Linked DNA regions of Homo sapiens: region 2 is linked to region 1. The links are contacts of gene promoters, found by promoter capture Hi-C in blood cells and fetal thymus (Javierre and others, 2016). All regions are on one chromosome and are shown on one strand. The core of a region is centred on a gene start or on the middle of the fragment in contact, and the rest is flanking DNA. Distances in the headings are between cores, read along the strand shown. Region 1 holds the start of MRPL14 (mitochondrial ribosomal protein L14). Region 2 overlaps POLH (DNA polymerase eta).

Region 1 (3,394 bases), core at 651-3,150:
AGGCTGAGGCATAAGAATTGCTAGATCCCAGGAGAAGCTGCAGTGAGCTGAGATCGCACTGCTGCACCCAGATCTCCCCAGCCTGGGCAAGAGAGACTGTCTCAAAAAAAAAAAAAAAAAAAAAAAAAAAGGCCTTCTAGTGATCCTCAGAAATCCAAAAACCAGACAACTATGGCTTCCACTTCCATTTTTCAGATATCCATTATAATACTATTTGACCTCAAAGTGAATTTTATTGTTCCACACAAGCAACAGATTACACCAATTTCACAACTCCCAGAATCCAAACCTACAAAGACCCTTCCCACCAAGCACTTTACCAAAAACGGGCTTCATCTCCATCTTCCTTTCTTTCACAGTTGAAAAACTGCCCTTCCTAATTAAGCCAACCAACTTCTTACCTCAATAAAATCCTTGTTTTTCAGTAGCACGTACAGTATTTCCAGTGATGAACAGTGAACTGTCTTTCGTCTCACACAGTAACCTCCGTGAAGAAGATCCACCTTGTTCTTTACTGTATATTCCTGGCATGCTAACTGCATCCTCAGACAATTTTAAGTGACTGAAAACTCAGGCAAAGAAAGGCAAGAGGGCAAATAGAAGGGCACAGGAGACAACGCTTTTCAAATTTTTCTCACTGCGACCTACAGAAACACACTGTAGAACACCTCCTAGTACACTCACACGTGTGTGTACACCTGAAGTGTCAAGAAACAATACCCTAAGTGCAACACCCTCTGATATTTTCTATTTCAAGTGGCCGTGATCTACTAAACTGATTTCCAACTCACCAATAGGATTCAGTTTGAAAAACACTGCAATAAATCAAACCTTACAGTTGCATTCCACAAGCTACTAATGAACTCTTGAAAATCCAGCATACAGCAGAGACGCTGACCAACTACAAGATCCAAACCCCCCAGGTGGGCAGTGTCCTTCTGTTCAGCAGTGGCAGTTCCCCACCACCACCAGCCCTGAGAGTTAATTATCTCCCAAACTCCCAGAGTTTCCCAAGTAGCCTGAGGTGTCTGTCATATGCCCTTTTAACCTCTTTATAAATTCAGTCCCGTCCGTCTCTTACGGTGGCAAAGTTCATTTATCGTCGGCTGTGGAAAGCAATACTTCCTTTTTGTCCCCTCCAGGAACCAGAAATTAAATGACCAGGTTGGTGCCCGTTGTGCCTTTATGATCTATTTGTGTGGGTGATATATAGAAAGAGTCTCAGTCTCTCCCTTCATCTTTCCAGTCTTAATCACTGGTAGATGCAGTCTCTGGTGAAATAAGAAACCAGGGAACCCCCTGGCCTGGGGGAGGGCGCACTCATCAGCGTTGACAGAGTGAAAGCAAAAACTCAATCCTCACACCACAGAGGCGTCTGGCTAACTCATCTCCAGACCTAAGTTGGGAAAGGGGAGGGGAGCGCGGAAAGCGGAGAAGCCGGAGGAGACGCTCCGGAGTGACCAGCGACGGCTGAACGCAGCCCGCCCTCCCCAAGTCGACGCCGCAACCCGGGGAAAGCAGGTGAGCGCCGGCCACGGACTTGGGGGTCGCAGAAGCAGCCCACGGAGAGCGGAAGGGAGGAGGATCCGGGTAAGGGGCCTCCCCTCCCCGTCGGGACCCCCCTCCCCGTCGGGACCCCCCCCTCCCCGTCGGGACCCCTCCCACTGACGCTCTGCCTCCCACTCTGGCCTCTCCTCACTCACCCCGGGGAGTGGGCCTCCCCTACTGCAGAGAAAGGAAGAGGAGAAGGAGGGAATGAGGACTTAACGCCCACCCCTGCCCCCCACCATACCGCTCTCGCCGCCCGGGAAAATCCCGCCGCGGGCCCCACCAGCCAAGCGCCGCCTTCGCCCCACGCGGCCTCTTCCTAGCGCCTGCGCGCCAGGCCCAGCCCGGCGGACGCGATCTGAGAGTGCGCGCGCACCTTGCGTGCGCCGGCGTGCGGGGCGGGACCTGCGGGGCTCCGCCCCCTCCCCCTCCCTCCCCCCGCTCCCCCTCCCCCATACACTGCCGCGGCCGCCGCAGGAGCCCGGAGCTCGAGCCGCCCAGCGACTCCCCCTCCCCCTCCCCCAGCCCCGCCCCGCCCCAACCCGGGGCTCCGAGCCGGAGCCGAGTCTGCGCCTGGGGGTGAGTACGCGACCCCTACCCAGCCCTCGCTCTTTTCTTCGAAGATCCCACCACCACCCAAAGAAAAAACCTGGACTCAGCTGCGCGTCCCCTCCCTTCAACCTCCTGCGGGACCCAGAGGTGCCCGGGCCCGCGGGACCCAGGGGTGGCGCGCGCTGCCCCCAACCCCGCACCATCCCGAGCCAAATGTGAGTCCTCCAACCCCTGCCGGAGGTCCAGATACGCGCCGCCGGCTCTCCCCAGCCCCGGGGAGATCCCAAAGGGTGGGACCCCCGCCCCCGGCCCCCGAGTGCCACTCTTCTCCCACCTGCCCGGTGCAGGTGCGCGTCCCCTGCGCGACCCTCGGGGGTGCCAGCTGCGCCCCGCCTGTCCGCCGCCGTTTGGGGAACTAGCCGCCCCCGCCCCCGAGTTTTGGACCCCGGGGTCGCCAAGTCCGATGCCTTCTGTGCCTTTTATTTTTTCTGCTGCTCCCGGGGGCGAGTACACCCGAAGCCGGTCCGGGGTAAGGGCTCGGGCTCGGGCAAGGGCAGGGTTCGCAGGTGCTGGCACGAGGCCGGCCGCTGCCCCCGGCTCTGGGGACTGACTGGTCGGCGGGCTGGAGAGGCGGCCGGCCCCGGGAGCGTGTCCTCTCCTTGCGCCCCACACAGTGCAGTTCATTCATGAGCCGCCCGGGCCTGCGTTGGAGGGTGCGGTGGGGAAAAGATTCAGACGCGAAACCGAGAGTGGGGCAAAGGCCCTGTTGTGGGGAGGGGGCGCCGCTTTGTCCCTCCTGGCTGTCTTGACCGCCTAAGGCGGACAGTCCCAAAGCTTGGCACCTTGTTCCCCAGAAAAGGAAAGGACGCTTGGGAAGTGGGGAGGAGAGGTCAGAGGGGCTGGCTGCCCTTGGGGCGCTGTGCTGCCCCCTGCCTGGGTCCCCTGGGCAGAGGTCTGGCCGCTCGGGGCAAGCCTGAGCACTCCACCGCCCTGGGGGGCTGGGGCTTGCCTACCCATTACCAGTCTGCAGCAGCCGGGGAGCAATGAGGCTGTGCCCAACACCTGCTGAAGAGGGGCCCATCCTGCCTCCCAGGCCAGGGTGAGGTGGGGAGTGGGAGTGTCAGCCAGGCTTCAAGTGGGGGTGTGCTGGCAGCGTGATTGTCCTCCAGGGCACCAGAGGGTCCAGGCCTTGGCATGCCCCAGGTGGCACATGCTGGGGCCTGCTGTTGGCTCACTCAGTGCAGTCTTGGCCTGTGGGTGGATGGGGACATGGCAAGGCAGAAGGCAGGCAGTG
Region 2 (3,394 bases), core at 429-2,928, 530 kb before region 1:
CATAACTTTCTTTTTTTTTAGTTTCCATATGCAACACTGATTTTTTTGGTGTCACCCAGGCTGGAATGCAGTTGTGAGATCTTGGCACACTGCAGCCTCCACCTCCAGGGTTCAAGTGATCCTCATGCCTCAACCTCCTGAGTAGCTGGGATTATAGGCATATGCCACCATGCTGGCTAAGTTTTGTATTTTTAGTAGAGACGGGGTTTCGCCATGTTGGTCAGGCTGGTCTCAAACTCCTGGCATCAAGTTATCCATCTGCCTTGGCCTCCCAAAGTGCTGGGATTACAGGCATGAGCCACCGCACCCAGCCTGATTTTTTTTTTTTTTTTAAATATTTGGAATTGGTTTTATAATGCCTTGAATTTGTGGCTCTTTAAAGTTTATTTGAGAATTACATACTCTTAAAAATTTGTTGAAAGCTATAGACCCTTGCTGGCCTCCGAAAAATTTGTATCTATACATAAGACAATTTTGCATGCAGTTTTCAGGAGATTCACAAACCCTCTGAAATCCACATACCTCAGAATTAGAACTAGTCTTACACATTATATTGGTTTTTGCTGCAGAGCATTGTTGAAGCATTCTATTATCTCTGGCTGAAGATGGTATATACCTTCCTTGGTAGTTGAATGTTAACTCAGATGGACGTGTTCCTCTTTCTTCTACACTTACTTTTCTTACCTATGTACATTTTTTTATTAAAAATGCCCATGTTTATAGAGAGGTCTATTTCTGTATGTCTTGTGTCTGTTGCATTAGTGTGTCCAACTTAAATATTAAGCTCCCAGATGCAGTGCCAGCATCTTATTATATGTAATGTTCAGAACAGTGCAATGTCTAGGAAATATTTCATATCATATTCCTGAATCTTTGATGTGTGCAACCACAAAAACCTGATAACAGAAATTAGCTGATCTAAGTGGATATAACCTTCCAGAAATCATTTTTCATGGATACAATATATTTCAAATCTAAGAAAAGAGGCGAGGTATTTGTAATACCTTGATACTGAGCTTTCCATCAACTTTTCCATCTTGCCTCCTATAAGAGCTAGCAATCATGCTCAGCCCTCCTGCATTTGCAGCTTTGTATCTTCTTTTTTTTTTTTTTTTTTGGAGAGGGAGTCTCTTTCTCGCTCTGTCGCCCAGGCTGGAGTGCAGTGGTGCAATCTCGGCTCACTGCAATCTCCACCTCCCGGGTTCACGCCATTCTCCTGCCTCAGCCTCCCGAGTAGCTGGGACTACTGTTGGCCGCCACCACGCCCGGCTAATTTTTTTGTATTTTTTTTAGTAGAGACGGGGTTTCACCGTGTTAGCCAGCATGGTCTCGATCTCCTGACCTCGTGATCTGCCCGCCTTGGTCTCCCAAAGTGCTGGGATTACAGGCGTCAGCCACTACGCCTGGCCTTGTATTTTCTAAAATAGTTATTTGTGTGTAAAGTTTAAGTAGTAAGATTTACTTAAAGTACTTCTCAGAAATTGTCAAGGTGAAACTTTCCCATCATTGCCATTTTGTAACTGGTTTGTTAGCTAAGGGCCTTTTCTTTTCCCTTTGTTTTTTCTTAATTCATTTCTTTATTATTTTAAAACACAGAGACATGGTCTCACTATGTTGCCCGGGCTGGTCTTGATGAGTTCCTGGCCTCAAGCAATTTTCCCACTTCAGCGTCCCAAAGTGCCAGGATTATAGGCGTGAGCCACTGCACCTGGCCTTACAAAACAGTTTTATAATGATTATTTTTGAGATGGGGTCTCACTGTGTTGCCCATGTTACCTGTGAACTCATGCTCAAGTGATCCTCCCACTTGAGGCTTCCAAGTAGCTGGAACTATCGGCATGTGCCACTGTGTCTGGCTTTATCTTATAATGATCATATAATTATTATTAAAGATTATAAAATTCAATGGAAAGATTATACTATCCTCATGTATCAAAAGACTAAATCTTACTAGTGCTCAATTCTCCCCAAATTGACGTATAGATTCATTGCAGTCCCTTCCAAAATCCCACAGAAATTGACAAACTGATTCTAAAATTTGTATGGAAATGCAAAGAATGTGGAGTAGCCAAACAACTTTGAAAAAGAACTAAGTTGGAAGACATACTACCTGATTTCAAGATTTAACTATAAATTTGTAACTAGGGAAGTTTGGTATTGGTGTGAGAAAATACGTAGATTAATGGTATAGAATAGAAAGTATACAAGTAGATCCCCACTTTTCAGGCTGGGGTGTGTGTGGTGGCAATTCATTTCCACAAAGGTGCCAAGATAATTCAACAAGAAAAACTCTTGGCTGGGCACAGTGGCTCACGCCTGTAATCCCAGCACTTTGAGAGGCCAGGGTGAGCGAATCATGACGTCATGAGATTGAGACCATCCTGGCCAACATGGTGAGACCCTGTCTCTACTAAAAATACAAAAATTAGCTGGGTGTGGTGGCGCATGCCTATAATCCTAGCTTTTCGGGAGGGTAAGGCAGGAGAATTACTTGAACCCAGGAGGCAGAGGTTGCAGTGAGCTGAGATTGCGCCACTGTACTCCAGCCTAGCAACAGAGTGAGACTCCGTCTCAAAAAAAAAAAAAAAAAAAAAGAAAGAAAGAAAAGTTTTTTCTCAGCTTTCATGGGCATTTAACACCAGAACTACCTGAAGTATTTCCTGTAGTCCATTTCATGGTATTGAAGAAAAACCAAAATTTTATAGATTTTTCTTATCAACTAGAGAAAAGGTAAAAAGCATTGTAGGGAAATAAGGGAATTCTGCTTATCTTCTGTGGTCCCGTTCAGTTAATACAGATAAAGGATTAAATTTAAAAATCTACATTGCCACAGGATTGCAACATTACCCAATCTGGGAAAGCAATGATGAAAAAAATCTAAAGCAGAGAAAATTTAGCTCTAACTGTTTAAAAAGGTCCAGAAAGTCATACAATTACAGTAAATTATTCATATTTTTGTTTCCCAAAGCTAATATATACTAGTATAAATTGTTTTAAATGATGGATGTTTTAATAGTATTTATTGTTCTTAATATGTGCAAGCCTTGGTATTTCAGGAAAACAGATAATTAAAAAAAAAGCAAAAAATGCGCAAGCCACTGTGCTGAGGAACTTTATTTTTAAAAACTACCTTTTGGCCGGGCACAGTGGCTCACGCCTGTAATCCCAGCACTTTGGGAGCCCTTGAGGTCAGGAGTTCAAGACCAGCCTGGCCAACATGGTGAAACCCCATCTCTACTAAAAATACAAAAATTATCTGGGCCTGAAGGTTCACAGCTGTAGTCCCAGCTACTCCGGAGGCTGAAGCAGGATAATTGCTTGAACCTGGGAGGTGGAGGTTGCAGTGAGCTGCACTCTAGCCTGGGCAACAGAGCAACTCCGTCTCAAAAAAAAT

The links. Contacts are between HindIII fragments. The CHiCAGO score rates a contact against its expected background, and 5 or more counts as called.
Region 2: a fragment that was not itself captured here is called in contact with the fragment with the promoter of MRPL14 in region 1 in 2 of 17 cell types (erythroblasts and M2 macrophages); the score reaches 5.4 in erythroblasts.

Annotation. Positions count from the first base shown.
Region 1 is chr6:44,125,552-44,128,945 of GRCh38, forward strand. MRPL14 (mitochondrial ribosomal protein L14) reads right to left here and starts at 1,901. Exons shown (of 3, transcript NM_032111.4): 1 at 1,793-1,901. TMEM63B (transmembrane protein 63B) reads left to right here and starts at 2,003. Exons shown (of 24, transcript NM_018426.3): 1 at 2,003-2,127. RefSeq lists silencers at 1,634-1,693, 1,724-1,773, 1,794-2,193, 2,234-2,343, 2,524-2,683. The HindIII fragment of the contact is 11,989 bases long and covers 1-2,932 here.
Region 2 is chr6:43,591,306-43,594,699 of GRCh38, forward strand. All of the region lies in intron 4 of POLH (DNA polymerase eta), which reads left to right. Among named protein-coding and RNA genes, the nearest start is that of POLH, 17 kb to the left of the region's middle. The HindIII fragment of the contact is 3,573 bases long and covers 1-3,394 here.